Regions from separate parts of the Homo sapiens genome. Here region 1 is linked to region 2. The links are contacts of gene promoters, found by promoter capture Hi-C in human tissues and cell types (Jung and others, 2019). All regions are on one chromosome and are shown on one strand. The core of a region is centred on a gene start or on the middle of the fragment in contact, and the rest is flanking DNA. Distances in the headings are between cores, read along the strand shown.

Region 1 (5,658 bases), core at 1,159-3,658, 63 kb after region 2:
GTTCCAATAAAAAAAATCTGGCAGGAGTTTTCATGAAACTGAAGAAACTGATCCTAAAATTCAGTGGGTACCAAAAAGCTAAGAATAGGCAACATTAATTTGAGGTGAGGAGTCCCCCGCCAGCTCTCAAGACTGAGGATGTCCCGGTGGATAGCAGCACCACAGGCTGAGATGGAGCCGGGGGGTCGGGGCCCACAGCCCAGACGCTGCAGAGAAGCTGGGGAGATCGACTTACCAGGAGTGGGAATTAGCTATCCAACGTAAGAAAATGAAATTAGCTTGACTTTAGAACTACGAGAAGGAAATAGAAAATATCCTTATAACCTTAGGGTAGAATTCCTTAAAATATAAAATGCAGAATTCAAAAGAGAAAATACTGATACATATGACACATTTGACTTTGTAACCTTCTTTTTCATACTAACCTCACTATGGGGACAACTGTAACTTTTATTGAAAGGCATTTTTTTTTAATAAGCCACAGGCCAGAGGAAGACATTTCCTATAGTTATTTATTGTTTGTTTAGAGCAAAGGATTAATATTCAGAATGTATCAAGAACGTCTGTAAATCCAAACCAAAAAGTAACCTAATGGGAAAATAGGCAGAATATCTGAGCAAATAACTTACGGGAGAAGAAACCTAAATGATGAACAAAAAGGAAGACATGAGCCTCGCTAGTATTCGGGGTGCAGGCTGATGGGACTGAGATCGACGCCATCCACACAAGCCTGCTGCCAAGCTTTGTTTTAGACCGAGTCTTGCAACAGGAAGACATGAGCCTCGCTAGTATTTGGGGTGCAGGCTGATGGGACTGAGATCGACGCCATCCACACAAGCCTGCTGCCAAGCTTTGTTTTAGACCGAGTCTTGCAACAGGAAGACATGAGCCTCGCTAGTATTCGGGGTGCAGGCTGATGGGACTGAGATCGACGCCATCCACACGAGCTTGCTGCCAAGCTTTGTTTTAGACCGAGTCTTGCTGTCACCCAGGCTGGAGTGCAGTGGCTTGATCTTGGCTCACTGCAGCCCCAACCTCCTGGGCTCAAGTGATCCTCCCATCTCAGCATCCTGAGTAGCTGGGATGACAGGCGTGTGCCACCATGCCTGGCTAAGTTTTTAGTCTTTTTGTAGAGATGGAGGTCTTGCTATGTTACCCAGGCTGGTTTTGAACCCTGGCCTCGAGCAGTCCTCCTGCCTCGGCCTCCCAAAGCGTTGGGATTGCAGGCATGAGCCACCGCACCTGGCCCTGGCAGACATTTTTAACCTGATCTACCATTGGCAAGAATGTGGAGTTGCAAGATCTAAGCATTCTCCATGGGAATGTAAATTGGTTCAGCCACTTTGGAGAACAATTTTGCAATCAGAAAATTCCATTTCTATATACATATCCTAGAAAATTCTTGCAAATTATTATAATTCAAAACAGCATTATTTTTAGTAGCAAAAAATTAATCAACTGAATATTCAGTAACATGCTGGACAGTTAAGATGTATTCATACATTGGAATGCTGCAGAAGCAAATGTGAATTCTGTAGCATGGAGGGAAAGATAGAAGATGTGGAATGCAACATGTTTTATGTGTTTAAAGTCTGAACTTTACATACATGCAAACTTTTACACTAAAAGCAACAAGAAGTGTTTGAGAATGACAGATGTGGCCGGGTGGCTGTGCCAGAGATGGGGAGGCATGCCATCAGAGAGAGACGCAGGGCAGTCGGCTGCTTGTGACATTTCTTCCAGAAGCTCAGTGATGGCTCTGGTTGTTCATGACATGCTTTGTACCTTTTTTCTTGATCCAAAGTATTTTATAATAATTGTTTTTAAAAACAAGGTAAGTGGCTGGGCACGGTGGCTCACGCTGGTAATCCCAGCACTTTGGGAGGCCGAGGCGGGCGGATCACGAGGTCAGGAGATCGAGACCATCCTGGCTAACATGGTGAAACCCCGTCTCTACTAAAAATACAAAAAATTAGCCGGGCATGGTGGCGGGCGCCTGTAGTCCCAGCCACTCAAGAGGCTGAGGCAGAAGAATGGCGTGAACCCGGGAGACAGAGTTTGCAGTGAGCCGAGATCGTGCCACTGCACTCCAGCCTGGTTGACAGAGCGAGACTCCGTCCCAAAAAAAAAAAAAAAAAAAAAAAAGAAATGCAGCTGACTTGTGTGTGTTTATTTTGTGCCCTGCAACTTTGTGAACTGGTTTATTGTAATAGATTTTTGTGTGTGGAATCTTTAGGATTTTCTACATATGAGATAATCTCATCTGCTTACAGGATCATTAAATTCATTCTTCCCAATTTGGACACCAGCCTTGTGTCTTAGAGATGCACATTGAAAGGTATGGTTAAGAGGATGACTGGGGTTTCCCTTAGGAGGGTAGAGTGGAGGTTAGTGTATGAAACAAGGTTAGTCTGCCTGATCATGGAAACTGGATTATTTGTTCCTTGAGATGCACTGTATTTTTCTTTCTACTTTTGCATATGCTTGAAATTTTATTAGAAATTCCTATATATGTCCAGGCATGGTGGCTCATGCCTGTAATCCCAGCACTTTGGGAGGCCAAGGCAGGTGGATCACATCAGGTCAGGAGTTCAAGACCGTCCTGGCCAACATGGCAAAACCTCATCTCTACTGAAAATATAAAAATTAGCCGGGCATGGTGGCACACGCCTGTAATCCCCAGCTACTCGGGAGGCTGAGGCACAAGAATTGCTTGAACCCTGGAGGCGGAGCTTCCAGTGAGCTGAGTTCACACCACTGCACTCCAGCCTGGGCCACAGAGTGAGACTCCATCTCAAAAAAAAAAAAAAGAAAAGAAAAGAAAAGAAATTTGTATATAGCCCAAACTTAAGACTGTCTCACCAGAGCTTAAAGGTGTTAGCTCTGGCCACAGCAGCGGCCTCAGTCACTCTTCTTACATGGATTTTGATGCAAATTCTGCTCCTTTTCTATTTCTCAAGATTTCTAGCCCCTTCGAGGGGCCCAACCCTCGAAGGAGTCCAGTAAATGTGTAACTCCACTCTGCCTTGCCTGTGCTGAAAACACATAGAAAGAGGAACAGAGGAGGCAGGCACCTGGAGGTCAGAATGGCAGCTGGATTGTGAAGAAGGTGTGGTTTGCATGCCTGGCAGTGATGAGCTTCTTAGGCTTCATTCTTAACCTCGGAGCAAGACTCATTGTCCAGCCACAAGCAGCGTTGGCCTCCAGAGGCCTCCGTGGGCAGGGCCTGCCCTGTGAAACTCAGGTCTGCAAGAGAACCTTGAGACCAGGTGCCGTGGGCTGGCTGGTTCACAAAGGAAGACGGGCTCTATCCATTTCCAGGAAGAGCGCCCTTGTCTCCCTGGGAGTAATGTATGTGGGACCAGGCAAGAGGCCAGGAGTGGTGAGGAAACATTCCCTTCTTGTGAAAATGCAAGCGAGGGGAAAGGAGGTTTCCCCCACAATGTGCTAGAATATTCATGCAGCCTTTGTTGTTGTTGTTGAGGAGGAGTCTCGCTCTGTCGCCCAGGCTGGAGTGCAACGGCACAATTTCAGCTCACTGCAAGTTCCACCTCCCGGGTTCACGCCATTCTCCTGCCTCAGCCTCCCGAGTAGCTGGGACTACAGGCGCCCGCCACCACGCCCGGCTAATTCTATTTTTAGTAGAGACGGGGTTTCACCGTGTTAGCCAGGATGGTCTCGATCTCCTGACCTCGTGATCCGCCCGCCTTGGCCTCCCAAAGTGCTGGGATTACATGCAGCCATTTTTGTATTAGTGAATAAATGGAATTCCTGAACGTCCACCAAGAGATGAATGGATAAACTGTGGTCTGTTCTACAACAGTTTTAAAAATGAATCAGAGCTTTGTGCATCAACATGGATAATTTGCAGATATAGTGGTGGTCAAAAACGGCAAGTCGCAGAAATGTTGATTCTGTGAAGTTTAATATTACAAAATAATAAACTCAGTGTTGCCTCCAGATCTATAGGTGTTAACATTAAGTAGAAATGCATTCAAGGGGATGATGAACTTTCAGAATAAGGTCAAGTGGGGACTGTGGGTGGAGGGAAGAGGGGCCCCACAGCACGGGGTTTACAGACCTCCTTGTGGGGAGTGTGGGTGGAGGGAAGAGGGGCCCCACAGCAAGGGGTTTACAGAGCTCCTTGGCGGCACCCTTAGGACTTTATTTCTTTAAAAATCTGAAGCAAATATGTTACAGGTTTAAAATTTAGCAAATTCCTTAGTGGGTATGTGAGCATTTGATATACTCCTTGTTCTCTGTATATTTAAACTGTTTAATAAAAGGAATGGAAAACAGGAAGAAATCAAAATGCTTATAGTAGTGATAAGCACAAAAAGGTAGTGCAGATTTCAGAAAGATGACAATAGTGAAAGTGTTGAGAAATTAGAGAAATTGTAATATTTCAGTGTGGTAATATTTTCATCTTGTCTGGTTGCACTGCTGAAGTTTTGTGCCCGTCACTACTCCGAGCACTTGTCTTCCTCCTGCAGCCCCGTGAAGTCCCTCGTGAGCAGTGTTTCCTGCGCAGGCCCTGTGGGTGTGGACTCGGGGTCCTGCATCAGGGACCTTGGTGAAGACCTGGTCTCTGCTCTGTGGTGCCCATGGCCTAGCGGGCAACAGTTGAGTGTCTGTTGATTTCAGCCAGTTCACTATGATCGGTGCAAAGGAAGAGAACAAAATATTTAAAACATTTACAAAATGCTGGCAGTAATATCATCAAAGGCTATCTCTAAAAAGTGAGATGTAGTGAGAGATTTTGTTTCTTTTAAATAGAAGGGGCGCAGGTGTGAACGTGTTATCTGCGGAAGATGTGGGGTGGCCGTGGCTCCTTTGCATCCCACAGACTCATCTCGCAGCCTCCCTCCCGTCTTGCGAAGGCTGCGAGATGAAGAGAGATGCGGTGACCACAAGCCCATGCGAGCCTTAGGGTGAAAATCGCTGATCTGTGAAGCCTCCGCATGGACAATATTAGTTGGGAGGCAATTTTATCATCTCCTGAATCGTGTAACCCTAAAAGGCACAAAGCTGTAGCCACAACAGCTTAACGTCATCGTCTGTTCAGACTGTTTTAAAATTCTAAGCCAAGATATTTTGTTCACCAAAAATTTAATTTTGTACAATAAGTCAATCAAGCCTTCTAAAACAATTACCTGAATCTCTATCCAGAAAGAGATTTTTGCTGGCATCAAGGGGTTTTGTGTGGTTCTGCTGTTTTTTTAAAATAAGCCTTTTCTATCAGATTGGTCTTTTAAAATCTGTTGATAACAGTAGCTTTTTTTTTTTTTTTTGAGACGGAGTCTCGCTCTTGTCCCCCAGGCTGGAGTGCAGTGGCGTGATCTCAGCTCACTGTAACCTCCGCCTCCTGGGTTCAAGTGATTCTCCTGCCTCAGCCTCCCAAGTAGCTGGGACTGCAGGTGCCCGCCACCATGCCCAGCTAATTTTTTGTATTTTTTAGAACAGATGGGGTTTCACCATGTTGGTCAGGCTGGTCTCGAACTCCTGACCTCAGGTGATCTACCCACCTCAGCCTCCCAAAGTGCTGGGATTACAGGCGTGAGCCACCGCGCCCAGCCGCTTTTTTTTTTTTTTTGTAAGAAAAAGTACCTTGTTCGGGGTGGGGTTGGGGGAATGACAATTTAATTTTTAGAAGCATAT
Region 2 (5,139 bases), core at 2,335-4,834:
CCACTCGCTGGGCTGTGTGGCACTGGGCAAGCGCCTGAACCTCTCTGTATGTCAATTTTTTCTCCTGTAAGATTGTGATAAAATCAGCCTCCACGGTGATGTGAGGAGCATGTGTGGAGGATAACATGCGTGAAGCAGCTGGAACAATGCCTGGTACAGAAGTGCTGTGGAGTCAGCACTCACCATTGTCGTTTTGTAGAGATGGAGTCTTGCTATGTTTCCTAGGCTGATCTAGAACTCCTGGGCTCAGGCAATCTGCCCACCGTGGCCTCCCACAATGCTGGGATTGCAGACGTGAGCCACTGTGCCCAGCCCTCACCATTGTTAACACAGCTTAAAGACCCCCTTCCATAGGCTACAATTTGTTATTTAAAGAACAAAGATAAACTTAAGTGAAATTTCGACTTTGATTTTTAGTGAGTTGAAAAAAATCTGCTTGCTTTGGTTTCTAGAGGGGTAAGCTGTAGGGACCAGCCCCACAGGGTCGGTGGGTCTCTCCCTGTGTGCAGTGACGAGAGAGTGTAGAAATAAAGACACAAGACAAGAGATAAGAGAAAAGGCAGCTGGGCCCGGGGGACCACTACTACCAATGCACGGAGACCGGTAGTGGCCCCGAATGTCTGGCTGCACTGTTATTTATTGGATACAAGGCAGAAGGGGCAGGGTAAAGAATGCGAGTCACCTCCAATGGTAGGTAAGGTCATGTGGGTCACGTGTCCACTGGACAGGGGGCCCTTCCCTGCCTGGCAGCCGAGGCAGAGAGGGAGAGGAGACAGAGAGAAAGACAGCTTATGCCATTATTTCTGCATATCAGGGACTATTAGTACTGATAGTACTAATTTTTCACTAATTTACTACTGCTATCTAGAAGGCAGAGCCAGGTGTACAGGATGGAACATGAAGGCAGACTAGGAGTGTGACCACTGAAGCACAGCATCACAGGGAGACGGTTAGGCCTCCGGATAACTGCGGGCGAGCCTGACTCATGTCAGGCCCTCCACAAGAGGTGGAAGAGCAGTCTTCTCTAAACTCCCCTGGGGAAAGGGAGACCCCCCCCCCCTTCCTGGTCTGCTAAGTAGCAGGTGTTGTTCCTTGCCACCTTTTGCTACTGCTGGACCACGATCCGCCTGGTAACGGGCGTCTTCCCAGACGCTGGCGTCACAGCTAGACCAAGGAGCCATCTGGTGGCCCTGTCCGGGCATAACAGAAGGCTCGCACTCTTGTCTTCTGGTCACACCTCACTATGTCCCCTCAGCTCCTATCTCTGTATGGCCTGGTTTTTCCTAGGCTATGATTATAGAGCGAGGATTATCATAATATTGGAATAAAAAGTAATTGCTACAAACTAATGATTAATGATATTCATATATAATCATATCTAAGATCTATATCTGGTATAACTATTCTTGTTTTATTATACTGGAACAGCTCGTGTCCTCTGTCTCTTGCCTCAGTGCCTGGGTGGCTTGCCGCCCACAGTAAGCAATTCCAGGGGTGATCTTGGATGCGTATTTTCTCATGACCCACAAACTAGACGCTGCAGCAGCACAGTGAACCCTCCCTTCCAGTCCACAGCTGAGGACCCTGAGAGCTTAGAGCAAACTTACTTCCTCCTTAAGAATAGCGCCCCATGGTGGCTCACGCCTGTCATCCCAGCACTTTGGGAAGCTGAGGTGGGTGGATCACTTGAGGTCAGGAGTTCGAGACCAGCCTGGACAACGTGGTGAAACCCCGTCTCTACTAAAAATACAAAAATCAGCCGGGCGTGGTGGTGGGCACCTGTAGCCCCAGCTACTCAGGAGGCTGAGGCAGGAGAATCACTTGAACCTGGGAGGTGGAGGTTGCAGTGAGCTGAGATCACGCCACTGCACTCCAGCCTGGGCGATGGAGAAAGACTCCGTCTCAAAAAACAAACAAAAAACAGTGCCCTAAACGTCCGTAACCCTTTTAACTGTGTGAATTTCGTGTCCTGTTGGGCCGATCTCCGTCGGTGCACTTTTGGAGTGTCCTGTGCCGCTGCCCTCCCTGCGGGCCTGGCAGGACCAGACCCACAGCCATGGACGCTGCCATTTACAAAACGCCCACCAAGTGCTACCAGAAATGGGACATGCAGAGCTGGTATGAGCGCACACACGGCATCAGACGCCCAGAGGAAGCCAAACTCAAGAGTGAGCTCCAGCCGTCTACGGTGAAAACAAGCCGGAGCTGTGTCCCACAGGTGTCTGTGTGTGGGGTGCACCTGTTCTGGGCTGCGGGGCACAAGCATGGGGTTGCTGGTCCTAAGGGCACACGAGTGGCCGCCTGGAAAACCAGAAGCAGGAGCTCCTGGACGCCAAGGCTGTGAACAGTCGGACGCCTCCCCGTCTCCAGCAAGCCGGGAGCCTTATCTTATCGCCGGCGCTTCAGCTCTCCCGTTATTTAGGGACCGGCCACAGGCTCGATGGCATTCCTCTGCTGTGAGCACAGAACTAAACTGGGCACGTCCATGGCAGATGAACAGAATGGTGGAGTGAACGCATAAGTGAGATTTCATTGACTTAGCTGCAGCCCTCAGATTTTAATTCTGCCATGATAAACAGCACCCACGGGGTTTTGAAGAGCAAATGCCTCGTAGGAAAGCTGGACTGCATGTCTGTGCACCTGCCATTTCCCTGAAATTCATGCAAAAGCTTGATCCTAAAATCAATTTGCTACTTAAAGGTATTTTAAGAAGCTTTGTCTCCAATCTCGTCCAATCAAGTTTATGTCATTTTCTTAGAACACATTTGTGTATGGGCAACTCTCCAAGCTGAACCATTTTGGGAGATGATATTCTAACTTTAATTCATTGGAATTTAGAACTAATCCCCAAACAGTATTAATGGGTTCACATTTCAAACTGGCTTATTTTACATCCCTTTGTAATGAATTCAGAACAAGAAGGCTTAATCTCTGCAGCGAGAAGTGAGCCCTCACCCTACTCCCACCAGCACGGCCGAGAGAGGCTTCACTGGCTTTAACTCTATTAGAAACAGAAGGTGCTAGGCCTAGTTAACGCTTTACAAATACAAGTGAAAAGTCACGTTTAAAAACTGAATCTTAATAACTGCAAAGTAAAGTAATACTGTCACCCTCAGAGAAACCACAGGAGAAACGTGATCTGCCGCATATCAAATTTGAGGGACACTCAGATTAAATTGCCACTTTTAGCAGCGGTATCAGGTAACACCATCCGCTGAAGGACCGCACTGCCTTCAAAGCTCTCGGAGGCTTACTGGGAGAACTCGAGCAGCCAGTGTTCCCTCCAGCCCGCACACCGGAGCGCGGTGGGCCCAGCCTACCTGTGGTGAGGGCCTCGGCGGTTGCGATGTGCATGATGGTGTTGTCACTCACGGGCCATTCTCCTGGCGAGAGTACGAGGTGGTCCAGGCCCCCGGAACGTTGCAGCTCCTCCTGGATCTTCATGCCTACAGTGCTGTTCTCCTTGCAGACATTTCTGTAGCCAAGAGCATCGCCGACGCTCCCCAGCAACATCGCAGCCTTAAATTTCTCCATCCCAGGAGGCAGCTCCTCTTCCCCAACAGCTGCGGAGCGTCCTGGCCTTTGTCTCCTCCTCAGCCCGCCTGACTTTTATAGTGGTCACTGTGTCACTGTCAGGAGCGTCCTCTGATGGCCAGGCGCTCCTTGTCTATCTCTGCAGGTGGCACCAATGAGAGGACCTTTCTGTCCCCCACGTGGGAGGTGTCAGTTTTCTTCTGCGTCTGGACAGGCACCAGCTCCTCAGCAGAGGAGCCTGCTAGCTTCTGCCGGCAGCCGCAGCACATTCAGAGCGTTGACAGAGCAGGGGCTCCTCTCGCTGTCCCTGGAAGGAGTGCGCACACTTCCCCGTGTGTGGCGTGGGGTGATGCGGGAGCAGATGTGTGCAGGCGTGCCTGTCACTGCCGCCCGCTGCGGGGCGTGCCCTCACCCCTCGGGCAACAACCCATCTGCTGTCTCTACAGTTCTGCCTTTCCTGGACATTTCAAATACAATGTGTGGCCTTCGGTGTCTGGCTTCCTTCACTCAACATAATGTTGAGATTAATCTGTGACATGCGGTTTTATCATTTAGAAAACTTTTCGATTATGAAATGTGTTTTTGATAGAAAACTTTTAAAAAATGCAGTGTAGAGGGAACAAAGTCTATCTAGCTCCTGTGTGAACAATGACGGTGTCTTCTCAGCATGCGGTGTTTAACGGCTCCCAAATAATTGGACTGCACTGAGGGGGAAAGTCGTCAGCAAACCGCAGGCTTCACTAGAACCTCCCATCCGGCCCTCGGTCAGCTCAGTGTATTTACATCATCCCTGCTAGCTCATGAAAAGAATATTAAAAAATATGGAGACGGGGGGTGAGGCAGAATGCACACAGCCAGGGTTCCTGGTTTGAAATAAATTAGGAAAACAGTCCATCTCCCGACCCCACCCCAGGACAGTTCTCCGCAGAGGCCGGGAGCCCAGCAGGGCTGTGTCTCTCCCGTCTCCTTCCTCGGGGCCTGGTTTCCATCAGACCCAGGGGAAGCAAAGAGTTACACCTGGACTGAAGAAATGCGTCTGATAAAAACTCTCGTAGTGTACAGCGAGACAGTAGGAAGCATTTAACCGCCTGGCGTTATATCAGCACTTGTTAAAACGGAGGATCTCAAGCAGTGAGTTCACCTCACCCTCCACTGTCTGCTGGTGGAGGCAGCCATCAGCACAGTCATGCCAGCTAGCATGATCCTGAGATTCAGAAACAAACTTCAAAACCAGCATGCAGGCCGGGCGCGGTGGCTCATGGCTGTAATCCCAGCACTTTGGGAGGCCGAGGCGGGCGGATCCCCTGAGCTCAGGATTTTGAGGCCAGCCTGACCAATATGATGAAACCCCGTCTCTACTAAAAATACAAAAATTAGCCGGGCATGGTGGTGGGCACCTGTAATCCCAGCTACTTGGGAGGCTGAGATAGGAGGATCACTTGAACCTAGGAGGCAGAGGTTGCAGTGAGCCGAGATCACGCCATTGCACTCCAGCCTGGGCAACAAGAGCAAAACTCTGTCTCAGAAACAAACAAACAAACAAACAAAACTCCAAAACAAAAAACAGCATGCACGCAGGGTCCCTATCCAAACAAGACAGACAGG

The links. Contacts are between HindIII fragments. The study calls those that stand out against the background at their distance.
Region 1: a contact is called between a fragment that was not itself captured here and the fragment with the promoter of ADPRHL1 in region 2, in 3 of the 25 tissues and cell types used here (H1 embryonic stem cells, bladder and mesenchymal stem cells).

What each region holds. Positions count from the first base shown.
Region 1 is chr13:113,513,770-113,519,427 of GRCh38, forward strand. All of the region lies in intron 7 of SLC9D1 (solute carrier family 9 member D1), which reads left to right. Among named protein-coding and RNA genes, the nearest start is that of SLC9D1, 26 kb to the left of the region's middle. The HindIII fragment of the contact is 4,216 bases long and covers 301-4,516 here.
Region 2 is chr13:113,449,904-113,455,042 of GRCh38, forward strand. ADPRHL1 (ADP-ribosylhydrolase like 1) reads right to left here and starts at 3,585. Exons shown (of 8, transcript NM_001394807.1): 1 at 3,321-3,585. The coding sequence starts at 3,534. RefSeq lists an enhancer at 1,617-2,118. The HindIII fragment of the contact is 9,965 bases long and covers 1-5,139 here.